Linked DNA regions of Homo sapiens: regions 2, 3 and 4 are each linked to region 1. The links are contacts of gene promoters, found by promoter capture Hi-C in human tissues and cell types (Jung and others, 2019). All regions are on one chromosome and are shown on one strand. Each heading gives the region's core, a stretch centred on a gene start or on the middle of the fragment in contact. The rest is flanking DNA. Distances are from core to core; before and after follow the strand shown.

Region 1 (2,700 bases), core at 97-2,596:
GAGGAGAATAAATACGTATTGTAAATGTAAAGCCCAGCAAACCCTCAGCATCCACAGAACAGTCTGTGTGTCACAGCCGGCAGGTGAGGAGCACACAGGAAAGCATGGAGGGCCACAGACGCTGAATGTTTCTAGCACCCAGACTCCTAACGGGCTGTGCCCATCATGAAGAAGCCTCCGGTGGGGTCCCCTCAGCCCCTAGGGAAGCACAGCAGCCCCGACCAGCCCTGTCCGGAGAGGCTCCATTCCTAGGACCCCCGATCCGGCCTCCTCCAGTCGCAGCCACCAACTGGCACGTGTCCACCTTCTCTCAGAGGCAGCACAAAGCCACACCAGTGGCTCCTTACTTCTTTCCGTCTAGCTCCTGGGTACGTGGGGAAGTACGCTGACCCCTTCAGAAGCCGGCCCACATGCAGGGGCCACGAGGGCTACGGAAGAGCGTCCGAGTCTTCGTCGCCCTCCTGTTAGTCTCCCTCTGATAAGCCATGGATCTAAGTCTAGGCTAAGATCCAAGTCACAGAGCCCCAGTGAATCTCCCAAGGACAAACGTTCTGTGGGAGAAGGGGCTTTGCACATTTTCACAGCTGTATCCCCAGGGCCTTGGACAGGCCTGGCACGTGGACGGCATCTGTGATAGGTGTTGCTGTTAACCAGTCTTAGTGTCTTCATCTATGAGATAGTGGTTCTCAATCCACGTTGTGGGACAGGAAAGGAGAGCCCAGTGCTCAGCATGCTGAGTGTGCACAGAGCGGTCTCATCATATCCAGTCGCCCAGCCCAGGGAGGGAGCATCTCTGTTCCCATTTTGCAGATGAGAAAACTGAGGCTCAGAAACCTTAACTGTCTGCTCACATGCTCCCTGCAGAGCCAGGACTCAAACCCACGTCTGAATCTGAAGCCCTCGTGGTTTCCACTACGTCGCACCACCTTTCTCAGCTCTAAGTGCTCCTGGAGGGAGGTATTTCCACCTCCACCCAGAGCTGCAGCCCCCACGCCCAGCACAAAAGCGGCGGCGCTTGGACGCAGCAAGCCACAGCTTCCTCGTGAGCCCTGAGCTGCGGGCCGCGGACGCTGACCTCCTACCACCCAACCTCGCTCGAGCTCGCCCACCTGGAGAAGGGCCCCGGCTGTGCCCCGGGGACGCCCCCACGCGGGAAATACTCACGGCTCCCGCAGGCGCAGGCGGCTGCGCGGGGCGCATCGTCTCCGGGGGCTCCGGCCTCCTCGAGAGCAGCCGAACGCGGGGCTGGGCTACCTCCTTGCTGTGGGGCATCAGATTATTTTAGCACCAGCGGAAGGAACGGACGGAAACTGAAGTCACATGGAGAGCGGGCTGCTCGGCGACTCAGCACAGGCTCACTCAGACCCGGCCTCTTAGAGGGAAGCGCGGCGCGGGCGCGGGGGTGGGGCGGGCCGGGGGAGCGGGGCCCGAACACCTGCCGGCCTAGCGGCCGAGCAGCGGGGATGTTTAGACGATCTTCCAGCAATGCGACCGAGGCTCCCCCGGCTTTCTTGCGTTGGTGCCTTGGCAGGGCTGGGGGCGGCCAGCTAGGGGCCCCTTGCCTATGAGGTCTGCTGACCCAGAAACTTTGCTACGAGCTTCCAGCCAAGGACCAAGCTGAGGCCGACTTTGGGAACGGCAGCACCGTGGTAAAGAGGCACAGCCTGTCGTCTGGCAGGGTCAGCCGCTCAGCCAGTCTGTCTTCTTATCCACTCAGCCGGTCCTTGTGGATCATCTCCTTTACGGACCCTGTGTTAGAAAGAAGGGGAATTGCTTTGTCGAGGACTGTCAGAGAGTGCCAAGAGCTTCTTGATCTTAGACTGCGCGGATGGGTTTTTTTGTACCTGATGTGTACAAAGTTCCCTGCCAGCTCTTGCCAAGAATTCAAAGGAGTAAGAATAATTGATCATATAGCCATCATTGAAGCAGCGCCAGACACTGTGCTAAGAGCTTCATATGCATTACCCCAGCGCTCCTGTTCTCGAGGAACTACTGTCGTCTAGAGAAGGTGAAATATTTACAGTGCCTGCTGCGTGTGGAGTGACGTGGACCACCATAGTCGGGGGCTCAGACAAGGGGCCTCCAGTTCTGATCTCTCTCACTCCCCTTCAAATCTGAAACGTTGAACTGTCCTGCAGGATTGGGTCACCTCTCTTATAGCCTGTGATTTGGGATTGTGTGTAGCATTGTCCATCCTAAGAGAACAGGAGCCAAGTCCTTTTCACTCCAAACATCTGGCACATTGTCTCTGCTTTCTACAATATTCACTCATGGCCGGGCACAGAGGCTCAGGCTTGTAATCCTAGCATTTTGGCAGACCAAGGCAGGTGGACCGCCTGAGTGCAAGACCAGCCTGGGCAACATACTGAGACTCCATATGTACAAAAAATTTAAAACTTAGCCAGACCTGGTGGCACGCACCTGTAGTCCCAGCTATTTGGGAGGCTGAGGTGGGAGGATCACCTGAGCACAGGGAGGTTGAGGCTGCAGTGAGCCAAGATCACGCCATTGCACTTCAGCCTGTGTGATAGAGTGTGACTCCGTCTTTAAAAAAATAAAAATAATTTTAAAAATAAAATATTATCTCATAATGGTAATAACAATCACACCAATGAAAAAGCTAAATAAAGATCAAATTGTTGCAAACCCAGGTGCTTGATTCAGGCCTCTTTCTCTCTTGTATGCACATTCTCTACTTCA
Region 2 (2,889 bases), core at 178-2,677, 200 kb after region 1:
AAGTTTCTTTATGTAGTTTGTTAAGGTTTTTAAAACATTTTGTGAATGGATGTGCATTTATATCAATGGTTTTCCTGTGTCTGATCAAATGAATCAAATAATTTCTCTTATTTAATTTGTTTTACTATGGTGAATTACATTGACAGAGGTGTTTTTTTTTTTTTTTTCTGGAGTTTCTGGTGTCCAGGCTGGAGTGTGCAGGGTGCAATTATAGCTCATTCAGCTTCAAACTCCTAGACAATTGGGCTCCAGTGGTCCTCCTACCTCAGCCTCCTAGGTAGCTGGGATTACAGGGGCGAGCAACTGTGCCATTTGTAAGAGCTTTTTACTGTAAAATTATGCTTGCATTCCTGAAGTAAACCCAATAAAAAAAATATGTACATGTATGTGTGAATATGTGGATTTCTAAATTCTGATTTAATTTAAGATATCTGTTTCAGTAGCCATGAGTGAGGATGAATTCTCATTTATTATTTTGTTTGATTTGATTTCAAGGTTATGCTACCCTTATAGAATGAGCTGTTTGTTCCCATTGTTCTTTATCTGGAAGCATTTGTATAAGTTTGGGATAATCTGTTTCTTAACTTTTTTGGTAGCAATCTCCTGTAAAATCACTGGGGTGTGGTCATTTGTGTGGCAGATTTCATTTTGTTAATGGTCATAAGTCTATGCATAGTTGAGTTCCATTTTGTTAATTATTTCTTCTAGGAAACTGTCATTTATCTATTTCCTAATTCATCAGCATAAAATTATTCATAATATTCTCTTATTTTTCAAGCCACGGCTATGTCTGCTATGTCTTTTTTTCATAATATTGTTTGTGTCTTTCTCTTTGTTCTTAATCTGTCAAAGGTTTTATTATTATTTATTTTTTTATTTTTTGAGATGGAGTCTCACTCTGTCACCCAGGCGGGAGTGCAATGGCACAATCTCGGCTCACTGCAACCTCTGTCTCCTGGGTTCAAGTGATTCTACTGTCTCAGCCTCCCAAGTAGCTGGGATTACAGGCGCCCGCCACCACGTCCAGCTAATTTTTGTATTTTTAGTAGAGACGGGGTTTCACCATGTTGGCCAGGCTGGTCTGGAACTCCTGACCTCAGGTGATCCACCCACCTCGGCCTCCCAAAGTGCTGGGCCTACAGGTGTGAGCCACCACACCTGGCCTGTCAAAGGTTTTACATATTGTTATTTCAGAGAACCAGCTTTTGGTTTTATGAATCCTCTCTTCTGTATTTTGTATTCTATTTTGTCAATTTCTGCTCTTTAGCATTTTTTCTTCACATTTTTCCTTGTCTGCTGAGTTGTTGTTCCTTTATTAACTTCTTGATGAAATGCTGAGCTACTTATTTTCCAGTCTTCTTCTCTAATATAACCAGTTAAGCTTATATATTCTCCTTTAGCTTCTGTTAAAACTCCATCAGTTTCGGGCCAGGCTCTGTGGCTCACCCTGTAATCCCAGCACTTTGGGAGGCTGAGACAGGTGGATCACTTGATGTCAGGAGTTCAAGACCAGCCTGACCAACATGGTGAAACCTTGTCTCTACTAAAAATACAAAAATTAGCTGGGCATGGTGGCCTGCTCCTGTAATCCCAGCTACTTGGGAGGCTGAGGCAGGAGAATCGCTTGAACCCAGGAGGCAGAGGCTGCAGTGAGCCAAGATCCTGCCACTGCACTCCAGCCTGGGCGACAGAGAGAGACCCTGTCTCAAAAAACAAAACAAGATGAAACAAAAAAGACCCAAACAAACCAAAAAGCTCCTCAAGTTTTGGAATGTATTTCCATGACCATTCCATTTTACATTTGTGTCCATCAATTTCCTCTTTTCCATCCTGCTCTCTGCCCCGGGGCTGCCTGTGGGAACTACAAGGGGCTTCTTGCTGTGCCCTCTGTCTTCCATTTGGGTTCAGCCATTGGGGATTCCTGGCAGGAGACAGAAGAGGAGATCGAGGTCAGGGTATCTATGTCCCTGAGCTCCTCTCTGAGATTGCCTCAAGCTGCTTATTTATGTCCCTTGACAGAAGGTCATTGCTTCTTGCATGGTGGTTTGCTCTGCAAAAAAATCTCACTTGGGATTTCTCTAACTTCTCTCTGTTCTCATCTCTTTGGACGTATGGGTTGTGACAGTTCTACTGTTACTAGTATGAGATCCTCCACTGTTCCTTGTGATTTCCACATATCTTACCCAGGCTGGAGTGCAGTGGTGTCATCATGGCTCACTGCAGCCTCGACCACCTGGGCCCAAGTGATCCTCCCGCCTCAGCCTCCAGAGTAGGTGGGACTACAAGCTTGCACCACCGCACCTGGCTAATTAAACTTTTTTTTTCTTTTTTCAGAGATAGGGTCTCCCTATGTTGCCTAGGCTGGTCTCAAGCTCCTGGGCTCAAGTGATCCTCCTGTCTTGGCCTCCCAAAGTGCTGGGATTACAGGCATGAGCCACGACACCCATCCTTCATATTCATATTCTTTTTTTTTTTTTTTTTTTTTTTTTTTGAGACGGAGTCTCACTCTGTTGCCCAGGCTGGAGTGCAGTAGCTCATTCTTGGCTCACTGCAAACTTCACCTCCCGGGCTCAAGCGATTCTCCTGCTTCAGCCACACGAGTAGCTGGGATTACAGGCACGCACCATCACGCCCAGCTAATTTTGTATTTTTAGTAAAGATGGTGTTTCACCATGTTGGTCAGGCGGGTTTGGAGCTCCTGACCTCAGGTGATCCCCAGCCTCGGCCTCCCAAAGTGCTGGGATTACAGGTGTGAGCCACCGCAACTGGTCAGTCCTTCATATTCTTTAATAATCCAAAAAAGCTTTTCAAGGTTGTATTATTCATTACTTCTTTATTTATTTTTCCCAGTTCCCTGGTTATCCATGGAAACTGTCTCATTTTCTTCCC
Region 3 (2,918 bases), core at 230-2,729, 250 kb before region 1:
GTATTTGTGTGTTTTAATCCTGATTGGCACTTGCAAAGCCTTTCAACTTTAGACTCAGACCTTTCTTTTCAGTTCTAGAAAACATTCCTAATTTCTTCAGTTTCCCTTCCATTATCTCCTGGCATACTCATGACATAGAGGTTAGAACTTTAAAGCGAAGCAAGAACTTAAAGAACTTGCAAAGTAATCTCAGTGCAGAGTCCTAGACTTTCACGCACGCCCTCAAATCTTTTGCAGCTGTCCTGCATGAGCGCATCAGCATTCATTTTTTTGCAGCAACCCGCTACTGTCATTGCAAAGTATTCACCTTGTTTTTCAAAGGAGGAGCTTTCTTCTTACACTCATATTTCATCATTTTATGTAATACTGAATAAAATTATGAAACTGCAACAAGTAAATCTCCCCTAAGTATAACTGACTCTTAAACATGTAAATCAACTGAAAGGAGCATAATGTGCAGTCATATTAGAGACAAGCCAGCATTCAGCACCCCACAGAACTCAATAGTGGCTAATGTTGTAGAAGTCCCTTAAAGGATTATCTATTGTACTCATTGCCCCATTAATCAATACTGAGGTTTAGTTCTGTTATTTGCTGAATTTGTCTATTTCATTGTGTTGGCTTTTCTCAGAGGATGGTGATAGACTGTTAGTTCATCTCTACTTAGGTAACTTGCTGAGAATTGAGGGCAAAGGGCTATAATGGGCAGTAGCTGCTGCTCTGCCTTGAACTATTTTCAGTGGGAATAAGGACACTAAGAACCCCAGCAGCTGTTCTGAAAATGGATGTTCCTCACTCTTGCCAAGTGTTACAAGGTGTACGTGTGTGGGTGAGTATCCTGTCTCTTGTCCTTAGAATTTTGGCTTGATAACAGATTTGTTCTTTGCTGACATGTGGCACAGGCAGGGAGAGATTCCCCAACTACTCAGTCCTTACCATGGGTGTCCCCTTTCCTCTCCACTTCCACCATCTCCAGAAATATGAGCACTCAGTATCACACCACTTCCCTGTACTAATCTTCCTTCTGCCCGCCTGGACCTTCCCTCTACTTTTTGCCCAGTGGGAGCTGATTCTCAGTTTCTGATCTACCAAAACTGTCTCCTCATTTGTGAGTATGAAGACACATGTGTTTTTAATATTTTTTCATAATTTCTATGGATTTGGTAGGAGGAAGAAGAGAGTCCATGAGCTTACTTCATTCTCTTAAACCTGAAACTGCTATTGGCTTCTGATTGATATTCTTTAGTAATTCAAGGAAGCTTCCTTTATTACTAGTTTTCTAAGAGATTTAAACCCAAAAGGAAACAATTTTACTAACAGGTTTTTCAGCACTTGCTGAGATACCATTTTTTTCCCCTTTGGCCTATTAAAATAGTGAATTATATTGTCACTACACATGAATTCTGTAAGAATTCCTACTTCCTCAGGTCATGCTACAGGTTTTACTACGTGCATATTCAATTTATCAACCGTACTTGAAAGTGTTACATCTATAAAGGTTAACTGGCATTTGTGGGTAAATGCTAATTCTTTTCAGGTGTAAGTATCATGGGTCTGCTAACCTCAGTAGGGAAATCTGGCTTTACTCTAGGACAGTATAGACAAGAGGTTTTTTGGTGTTGTTTTTTTTTTTAATTTGCTAGGACTCTGTACTTTGTGTCTTTCTATGAGGAAGAATTTATTTACTAATTTATTTATTTTTATTTTTTTTGAGACAGAGTCTTGCTCTGTCGCCCAGGCTGGAGTGCAGTGGCACGATCTCAGCTCAATGCAAGCTCCGCCTCCCCCGTTCACACCATTCTCCTGTCTTGGCCTCCCAAGTAGTGGGGACTACAGGCGCCTGCCACCACGCCCGGCTAATTTTTTAAATTTTTAGTAGGGACGGGGTTTCACCATGTTAGCCAGGATGGTCTCGATCTCCTGACCTCATGATCCGCCCGCCTCGGCCTCCCAAAGTGCTGGGATAACAGGCATGAGCCACCGTGCCCAGCCAGAAGAATTTATTATACTTAATGGTTGGAAAGAGAAAGTGCTCAGAACTGTTTCAACTACCAAGAAATAAACCTCCTAACTAGCTCCCCAAAGCCAATGGTAATAATATCTGTCCAGATGTCCTATACAAATGCATATGCACACATATATACTCACACTCATCCTACATATGTCATATATATCTTTTAACAAAATGGTTTCATACCATTTTGCAACTTACTGTTTTCACTTTTTTTCTTTCTTTTTTTTTTGTGAGAGAGTCTCGCTCTGTCGCCCAGGCTGGAGCACGGTGGCATAACCTAAGCTCACTGCAACCTCCGCCTCCCAGGTTCAAGCGATTCTCCCTGCCTCAGCCTCCTAAGTAGCTGGGATCACAGACACGCACCACAACACCTGGCTGATTTTTGTATTTTTAGTAGAGATGGGGTTTCACCATGTTGATCAGCCTCGTCTTGAACTCCTGACCTCAGGTGATCCGCCCACCTCGGCCTCCCAAAGTGTTGGGATTACAGGCGTGAGCCACAGCACCTGGCCTGTTTTCACTTTATATAGACATCTTTCAGTATCAAAATATAGATCTATATTCTTAAACAGCTGCTAGCAAACTATTGCCTGAATGGGCCATAATTTATACTATCATATTGTCTTCCAAAGAAATGTTTACACCAGTTTACCTTATGGGATAGATTTTTGACAAGAGAAGGCTTCTTAAAGCATGACGTAAAAACTAGAAGCCTCAAAGTCAAATATAGGTAAGCTTTAGGCCAGGCGCAGTGGCTCATGCCTGTAATCCTAGCACTTTAGGCAGACTGGCCGAGGCGGGCAGATTGCCTGAGCTCAGGAGTTCGAGACCAGCCTGGGCAACATGGTGAAACACTGTCTCTACTAAAATACAAAAAATTAGCCGGGCATGGTAGCGTGTGCCT
Region 4 (2,906 bases), core at 242-2,741, 180 kb before region 1:
GCTCCTTTGCCTGTCTGGTAAACTTTGACTGATGTCTGGGTGATTGCTGGGTCCTGGCTATTTCTGTATTCCTACCAATATGCTTTTTCCCCCCATCAGGCAGATAAAATCTTGTTGTATTTGAATGACTGGATCTATGTAATCACCAAGATCCACTATGTACAGACGAGAGAGGGAGACCTTTATTTCTTAGTTTCTTCCTCCTGGGACAGTCTTAATGATTTTCTCTTGGCCCAGAGGCACTCTCCGTGGAACTACAGTGCTTTCCTGGTCTTAGAGCCATGTGCCCTGGCCTGGTCAATGAGAAGCTTCTTGAGGCCTTGTCTATCTTCAGCTTGGAATGAGTTCCGAAGAACCTGCTTGTTTCTGAACACGTCCCCCTTCACTTCATGTACAGGCTCTGATACACGTGAAGGTCAATCTCGGTAGATTCATAGTGTCTTCTGAGCAGCTGGGGTGGAATTCTCATCTTCCTCATCCAGGCTGCCTTTTTGGTAATGTGTGCATTAGCAGTTATGCCCATATGCCTGTGGGCCAAGGTGTTTTTTTCTTTTTTTTTTTTTTTGCGACAGAATCTCTCCCTGTCGCCCAGTTTCAAGCAATTCTCCCACCTCAGCCTCTCGAGTAGCTGGGAATACAGGTGCACGCCACCATGCCTGGCTCATTTTTGTATTTTTAGTAGAGACGAGGTTTCATCATGTTAGGCTGGTCATGAACTCCTGACCTCAAGTGATCTGCCCACCTCGGCCTCCCAAAGTGCTGAGATTACAAGCATGAGCCACCGTGCCCGGCCCAAGGTGTTTTTTTTGTTTGTTTGTTTGTTTGTTTGTTTGCGGGGATCCAGCCTGGGAATGGATAGTCACAGGCTTGCAGATGATCAGCCCATCTTTGATCAGCTTCTGGATCTGCTGATAGGAGCTTGGCGCTGGTGATTTTACCGATCTCACTGAGGTTCAAGTAGACCTTTTTGCCACAGTGAAGGCCACTGGAGGCGAGCCTCTTCTGAAGCCTGAGCGTACTCCTGGCTATAGACGCAGCCCTGTAAGACTCTTCAGCTTTGTACAGGAATGCAGTTGAGTTACTTGGGAACAGATCCCGTTAGTCTTTTCTCTCTCATGTAGACTCTTCTTTCAAAATACATCCAGACTCACACCACTTTTTCCCACCTCCACTGATACTGCCCTGGTCTAGGCCATCATCACTGCTTGCCTGAATTATGACATCAGCCTCTTGACTGGTCTTCTGCTCTGCCTTTGCCTTCCTCAGGGATCTCTCAACAACGCAGCCAGGGAAATCCTATTAAAACTGAAGGAGACCACTTTGCTTCTCTGCTCAGATCTCTCTAACAGTTTCCCCATTTGGCCTCCAGTAAAAGCCAGAATCCTTCCAGAGCTCTCATAAGGCACTACGGTCTGGCCTGGTTTCTTCGCCGATCGACCGCACCTCTCGCTGTTTGCTCAGCGTACGCCAGCTGTGCTGAGGTCCAGAATCATCTCTCAATACACAAGGAACGCTCCTGCTTTAGAGCTTTTGCACTTGCTGTGCCTTCTGCTTAGAATGCTTTTCCCTCAGGTAAGTATCACGCTCTTACTTCCTGTGTCCAAATGTCACCTCAGGGAAGCCCTCCCTATGCACGCTTTTGATTTAATTTTACATTTTATTTTTATTGTATTTTTTTTGAGACAGGTCCTAGCCGTCACCCAAGCTGGAGTGCAGTGATGTGATAACAGCTCACTGCAGCCTCATCTTCCTTGGGCCCAAGTGACCCACGCACTGGGGCAGGATGATGGTTCCAATTAGCTGTGACTACAGGCACACACTAACATGCTTGGCTAATTTTTAAATTTTTTTGTAGAGATGGGGACTCACTATGTTGCCTAGGCTGGCCTTGAACTCCTAGGCTCAAGCAATCCTCCCACCTTGGCCTCCCAAAATGCTGGGATGACAGGCGTGAGCCACTGTGCCCAGCTCTCTAAGCACCTTTTGAAAGTAAACACCCTAACCTCCTTCCTGCCAGTCTCAGTACTCAAGAGTCCATTATTCAATGTATGACACATTATTCTGATTTATTTTGTTTTTCTCTTTTCCCACTAGAAGACAAGTTCTGTAAGAGCAGGAATTTTTGTGGGTTCTTTTAGACAGCATTGTGAATAGTGCTCAGCGCATGGCAGGTACCCAAACCAATACTGGCTAAATGAATGAATAACATTAGAGGGCTTTAATGTCATTCTGAAAAGTGGTCTAAACTAATCACCTCTATAGAAGTACTTTAACGGCCCACATAAACTGGAATCTTTGGCAACTGGATGAAAAGCATTCAGGAAACAGACGGTCAGAATCTGCTGCCATCTGTTGTTCGGCTTCTTTCACTTAGCACAGTACTCTCAAGGTTCAATGCTGTAACACGGATTGGCACTTCCTTCCTTTCTATGACCAAATAATATTCCACTGTTCACCAGGTTTGAATTATTTCCACTTCTGTGGCTGCATGAAGGTTTCTGTATGGATGTATGATTTTAATTCTCTTGGCTCTGTACCCAGCAGAGGAACCGCTAGGTCATCTGGTAATTCCGTATTAACTTCACACAGAATTGTCAAGTTGTTTTCCAAAGCAGATGTACCATTTTATATTTTGCAATGAACGAGATTTCTAGTTTCCTTATCTTCTCACCAACATTTATTTATTTATTTATGGAGACGGAGTTTCGCTTTGTCGACCAGGCTGGAGTGCGATGGCATGATCTCGGCTCACTGCAACCTCCGCCTCCTGGGTTCAAGTGATCCTCCTGCCTCAGCCTCCCACGTAGCTGGGATTACAGGCACCCACCACCATGCTCAGCTAATCTTGTATTTTCAGTAAAGATGGGGTTTCTCCATGTTGGTCAGGCTGATCTTGAACTTCCAAC

What was found. Contacts are between HindIII fragments. The study calls those that stand out against the background at their distance.
Region 2: a contact is called between a fragment that was not itself captured here and the fragment with the promoter of NRROS in region 1, in 1 of the 25 tissues and cell types used here (aorta).
Region 3: a contact is called between a fragment that was not itself captured here and the fragment with the promoter of NRROS in region 1, in 1 of the 25 tissues and cell types used here (spleen).
Region 4: a fragment that was not itself captured here is called in contact with the fragment with the promoter of NRROS in region 1 in 3 of the 25 tissues and cell types used here (H1 embryonic stem cells, spleen and thymus).

The regions. Positions count from the first base shown.
Region 1 is chr3:196,638,340-196,641,039 of GRCh38, reverse strand. It overlaps NRROS (negative regulator of reactive oxygen species), which reads right to left and starts at 1,346. Exons shown (of 3, transcript NM_198565.3): 1 at 1,165-1,346. RefSeq lists an enhancer at 590-709 and silencers at 1,160-1,259, 1,280-1,709. The HindIII fragment of the contact is 16,873 bases long and covers 1-2,700 here.
Region 2 is chr3:196,434,833-196,437,721 of GRCh38, reverse strand. No RefSeq gene overlaps it. Among named protein-coding and RNA genes, the nearest start is that of UBXN7, 3.8 kb to the right of the region's middle. The HindIII fragment of the contact is 4,935 bases long and covers 1-2,889 here.
Region 3 is chr3:196,887,909-196,890,826 of GRCh38, reverse strand. All of the region lies in intron 2 of SENP5 (SUMO specific peptidase 5), which reads right to left. Among named protein-coding and RNA genes, the nearest start is that of SENP5, 21 kb to the right of the region's middle. The HindIII fragment of the contact is 3,556 bases long and covers 1-2,918 here.
Region 4 is chr3:196,821,471-196,824,376 of GRCh38, reverse strand. The region is part of intron 13 of PAK2 (p21 (RAC1) activated kinase 2); the gene reads right to left. Among named protein-coding and RNA genes, the nearest start is that of SENP5, 45 kb to the left of the region's middle. The HindIII fragment of the contact is 5,691 bases long and covers 1-2,906 here.